Regions from separate parts of the Homo sapiens genome. Here region 1 is linked to region 2. Evidence: promoter capture Hi-C in human tissues and cell types (Jung and others, 2019). All regions are on one chromosome and are shown on one strand. The core of a region is centred on a gene start or on the middle of the fragment in contact, and the rest is flanking DNA. Distances in the headings are between cores, read along the strand shown. Region 1 overlaps MAP2K5 (mitogen-activated protein kinase kinase 5). Region 2 holds the start of C15orf61 (chromosome 15 open reading frame 61).

Region 1 (2,700 bases), core at 196-2,695, 62 kb before region 2:
TTACAAAACACTGCAGTTGCTTTCATTTTGTATATTCCAAATATACTCAAATTTATTATGTTATTTTTCCTAGAAAATATATCTAAACCATAACAAAATGTTTTTACTTGCCTTTCTAAAATGCATTAAAATTAAGACTCAAAATCTTCTTTCCTTAAAATGGAAATTAACCTTTTGAACTACAGTCACATGCATTTGACGTCTGGTCCTTGAGGGACCATCAATACTTCCTAAGACAACACTTCAAAATATTTCCACTGAAGTAAGCAGTGCATTCATAAATTTCATTTAAACAAAGTGGCTAGCCAAGGAATCAGAGACAAACATCAACTCTTATCTCTAACCTTAACATCTGCCTCACTCCTCAATTGACTTCTCAAACTTTTATAACTGGAGATGTAAACAGCAGTCAAAAAACCCAGTAACCTCATATTTCCTAAAGTTATCGGGTCAGGAATTACTATAAAGCTAGTCAATGTTCACACTTATTAATATTTAACATATCTTTTAACAATGTAGAGGACTTAGCCATGACCTGGGAGTTACTATCCAAGGCAACTGTGCTACTTGGAATGAGGAGAACATGTTATTACATCAGAATTATGGCCAGGCATGGTGGCTCATGCCTTTCATCCCAGCACTTGGAGAAGTGGTGGTGGGAGGATTGCTTGAGCTCAGGAGTTTGACACCAGCCTGGGCAACACTGTGATACCTTGTCGCTATTAAAAAATTAAAAAAAAATGCCCAGCGTGGTGGCACATGCCTGTAGCCCCAGCTACTCAGGAGCTGAGGCGAGAGAACTGCTCCAGCCTGGGGACATAAAGGCTGCAGTGAGCACACACTGCACTCCAGCCTGGGTGATAGAGTGAGACTCTGTCTCCAAAATAAATAAATAAATAAATAAATAAGGAAACAATCATTTTCTCCTATCCTTCCTACTTGTTCAGTCTAAAGATTCTTTTTAACATGGGGCCTAACCATAAAATTTAAGATCTGAGGGCCTCTAACCAACTAGGTAGACACAGGAAATATACCCAGTATGTCTACATGTCGATTATGTAAATTTGCATAATTTCACTTATCTACATATGATAAAATGTACATTCGATGTAGACAGGTAGCAAAAAGCAAAAGACTACCAAAAACTAGAAACAATTACACCATAGCATATTAAAAAAACACAGAAATAAAAAGACAGTCTCATATTCTGAAATATTTAAATTTGGCTTAGAAAGACTATGTTTAACAATTTATTGCAGCCTAGTGGGTTTTATGCTAAGACTACATATGACAATGACATCTCATATAATTTCCTCCTTTAAGTATCCTCTCCCCATAACATACTCCTCTCCACTCCAAAACAAGCCCTCCAAACTACTCCCATGCACACTCTAATTATATTTTAATATATATGCCTTTCCATTTTAATCATATTATAATTTAAATGAAATTCTTACTCAAAGGGCATAGTAAGCACTTATAAGCTGTGTGACTCTGAAGTTACTTAACCTCTCTGAATCTCAATATTCTCATCTATAAATTGGAAACAGTAATACCTAATAGGCAGAACTATCAGGAGGATTACAGATGATGATGCGTAAAGCAATATTAATGCCTTAACAGAGCAGACATCTAAAAATGGTTGTGATTATCATGGGAAGAAGCATAATGCGATGAACAGTGAGAATGACAGGACTGCTCACAAAAGGAAAGAAAACAAACAAAACTTGAAAGAATTTGGATGAAGATAACTAAAAAAAATTTTTTAGAGACAAATGAAGACCCACAACATTGGAAGTGTGTGTGTGTGTGTGTGTGTGTGTGTGTGTTTTGAGACAATGTATTGCTCTGTCACTCAGGCTGGAGTACAGTGGCACAAACATGGCTCACTGTAGCCTCAACCTCTTGGGCTCAAGCCATCCTCCCACCTCAGCCCACCAAGTAGCTGGGACAACAGGAGTGTGCACCACGCCCGGCTAATTTTTGTATTTTTTTGGTAGAGACAGGGTTTTGACATGTTGCCCAAGCTGGTCTCAAACTCTTGAGCTCAAGCAATCCACCTGCCTCAGCTTCCCAAAGTGCTGAGATTACAGGCATGAACCACTGTGCCCTGCCTGGAAGTATATTTCTCCAGGATACTGCAATTAGGGTTTTCTATGGCAGAGCTATAATGTCAATAGAGAAATTAATGGAAATTTTCAGTTTGTAAAATACTACTCCTTGTGAAGAAAGAATTTTGAAACTTGCCCAAATTCTCCAGTCACTGCAAACATTAAGAAATAATCTGCCTCCTGGCTGGGCGTGGTGGCTCACGCCTGTAATCCCAGCACTTTGGGAGGCCGAGGGGAGTGGATCATGAGGTCAGGAGATCAAGACCATCCTGGCCAACATGGTAAAACCCTGTCTCTGCTAAAAATACAAAAATTAGCTGGGTGTGGTGACACGAGCCTGTAATCCCAGCTACTCAGGAGGCTGAGGCAGGAGAATCACTTGAACCAGGGAGTCAGAGGTTGCGGTGAGCTGAGATTGCACCACTGCACTCCAGCCTGGTGGCAGAGCGAGACTCTGTCTCGAAAAAAAAAAAAAAAAAAAAGAAATCATCTACATCCTAATCATTGGACTAATAAACAGAAATAGCAACATTTCTTTTTTTCTGTTTTGGTGCTTAATCTTCAAGTACAACAGAAGTGGATTAATCAC
Region 2 (2,700 bases), core at 23-2,522:
AAACCTGGCTGGGTAACATGGTTCATTCAGCTCCATGGCTAGATTTTGAATCACTGAAATCTAGATTGATTTTATGCCAGCTATTAGTAAGTTCAAAACATCTTGAGGCCTTCTGTTTTCCCCTGACCTATAAAAGATACACCCATGTCCATGTTCGTACCTCCCTCTTCTGTCATTAAACCAAAAGAAAATAAACACCTAGTGACAGTAAACATCCTCAGGGCGTCTCCATGAAAATATACAAATATTAAAGATCTTTAAAAATCTTTTAGGCCTAGCACCTCAGGAAGCTGTTATGTCTGGTGAAAACCTTTGGTGCTTTTAGTAAAACGAACTTGCCGGGAATTCATACAAAGAAAACAAAAGAAACTTAAAAGAGTAGTTCCAGTTATTGCAACATAAACGCAGCTGCAAAGTGATGTTCACGGGAATGAGTCCTGCCATGCAGTAGGACGGATGTCAACTTCAGAGCCACTTTCTAGGGGGCGTTTCCTGACGCCCCCTGGCTTACTGCCCAGGCCAGGGGTCTACTCTGGTTAACATGGGCAGGACAGGAGGGCGACCCGCCCCTCCCTAGGCCCGAGGACGCGCCCGCAGCAGGCGAACGGCTTCGGGTGCCAGGAGCTCAGCAAGCTGGGGACCCCCTGGGCGAGGAGTACAAAGGACCCCAGGCGAAGCCGGCGCCGGGAGGCAGAGCTGACTCCCGCGGGACTCTACCGGCCTGCGAGCGTTCGTCACGTGCTCGGTGGCTGAGGGGCCGTCCCGGCCGGGCGGGCTTCACCGCGTGGGCGCGGCAGTCGCCACTCACCGAGGTTGACGACCTTGAGCGCCGTGAAGAAGCGGTTCTGCCGGGCCAGGTCCTGCCAGGGAGCCTTGGAGCAGTGGTACTTGATGAAGGGGAAGCAGCCGGTGCGCAGGACGTGGTAGTTGGCGCCCTGCACCGGCCAGTTGAAGTGCGAGAGGCCGAACTGGTCGTTGCGGACGGCGCTGTAGGGCACGCAGAAGGAGGTCCAGTGCGGCAGGCGCCGCTGCAGCAGATGCCGCGTCAGCACCTCCGAGGCGCTGGGCTTGGGGCGGGCGGCGGCGCGCGAGGCCCACGGCCTACACAGCAGCAGGCGGAGCGCGACCTCGTGGGCCCTCCTCAGGGCCTCCATGGCCCGCCGCGCCGGGGACGCAGGCTGGTGTCCGCAGCCGCTGGCGCGCAAGCGCGCCCCCGGGCGAGCGCCGGGAAGGCCAACCGGCGCCGCGCGGGTGCCCGAGAGCCCCCGGTGTGCGGCGGCGCGTGCGCACAGCGGCCCCGTGGCCTCCCGCTGGGGGTGGAGTCCGGGGGATGGGAAGCGTGAGCTGCGCGAGGCGGAGGGTCACCTGCGTCAAGGAGCTGGTTTTGAGTGGCCAGGTGTGACCTCACGCCGTCATTAGTAACTCGGGCAGGGGAGGGATTCGGGGAGGTCTCATCAATTTGGGCCTGAGGAAAATTCAGGTGGAAGACAATTAAATAACTAACCACCTCCGCAAGGTGCAGAACTCAAACCCAAGTCTCCCTCCCACGCCCTGGGCTCCAGGGAAGCCCTTGGGTGTTGTTGTTGAAACAGGACGAGGCGTGACCCCGGGTCTGCGTTGTTTGGTAAGGCCGGGAGCACTTTTGTGTGTAGGTCCTCGCTGTCGGGTTCACTGTTTAAAATTAGTCCCAGAGATTTCAAAATCAAAAGTTTATTTAAAAACCTCACGTGTCTCAGTGCAGCGTCCGAACACACAAAGGCACCTCCCTCTAAGAACCTGGTAGACGGACCAGGAGCCTCTTATCGAGCTTTGTGGACCTCAGTCACCCATTACCAATCCATTACTTTCGGAAAAGCTTTGCTCAAACTTTGCGGCCTCTTGAGGCAGTAACTTACGGACAAAACTGCTTTTAGAAAAGGATTTCCTCTTTTGTCCTAAACTCATTTTGTTTGGAGAGGCCATACATAAACAAGATGATGTGTCTGAAACCACCTTATGTAAATGAGGTACAGTAATTACGCGTTAAGCATCATATAACAATTACTATCGTTGCTAAAAACTCAAGGGGGATGTAGGATAGTATGGCGAAATTTTATATTCCCCAGTTTTTTGTTTTGTTTTGTTTTGTTTTTTTGAGACGGAGTCTCACTCTGTTGCCCAGGCTGGAGTGCAGTGGTGCAATCTCAGCTCACTGCAACCTCTGCCTCCCAGGTTCAAGTGATTTTCCTGCCTCAGCCTCCCGAGTGGCTGGGATTACAGGCGTGCACCACCACGCCTGGCTAATTTTTGTATTTTTAATAGAGACGGGGTTTCACCATGTTGGCCAGGCTGGTCTCAAACTCATGACCTCGTGATCCACCTGCCTCGGCCTCCCAAAGTGCTGGGATTACAGGCGTGAGCCACTGCACCAGGCCTATTCCCCAGTTTTTATTGAACATTGAGCACCCACCAACATATGCCGAATCTTGAACTTTACCTTACAGAATTTGAAGTTGAACTTTACCTTATAGAACTTGAACTTTATAGAATTTCTTTTTCTTTTCTTTTTTTTAGAAAGGATCTCACTGTTGTCTAGGCTGGAGTGCAGCTGCTCGATCTCGGCTCACTGCAACTTCTGCCTCCTGGGCTCAAGAGATCCTCCCACCCTCAGCCTCCCAAGTAGCTGGGACTGCAGGTGTGTGCCACCTACACTCGGCTGCT

The links. Contacts are between HindIII fragments. The study calls those that stand out against the background at their distance.
Region 1: a fragment that was not itself captured here is called in contact with the fragment with the promoter of C15orf61 in region 2 in 2 of the 25 tissues and cell types used here (liver and small bowel).

The regions. Positions count from the first base shown.
Region 1 is chr15:67,581,953-67,584,652 of GRCh38, reverse strand. All of the region lies in intron 4 of MAP2K5 (mitogen-activated protein kinase kinase 5), which reads right to left. Among named protein-coding and RNA genes, the nearest start is that of MAP2K5, 41 kb to the right of the region's middle. The HindIII fragment of the contact is 7,822 bases long and covers 1-2,700 here.
Region 2 is chr15:67,519,703-67,522,402 of GRCh38, reverse strand. It overlaps C15orf61 (chromosome 15 open reading frame 61), which reads right to left and starts at 1,272. Exons shown (of 2, transcript NM_001143936.2): 1 at 809-1,272. The coding sequence starts at 1,154. IQCH-AS1 (IQCH antisense RNA 1) reads left to right here and starts at 559. Exons shown (of 6, transcript NR_040052.1): 1 at 559-884. RefSeq lists enhancers at 846-965, 1,606-1,685 and a silencer at 1,076-1,425. The HindIII fragment of the contact is 11,118 bases long and covers 1-2,700 here.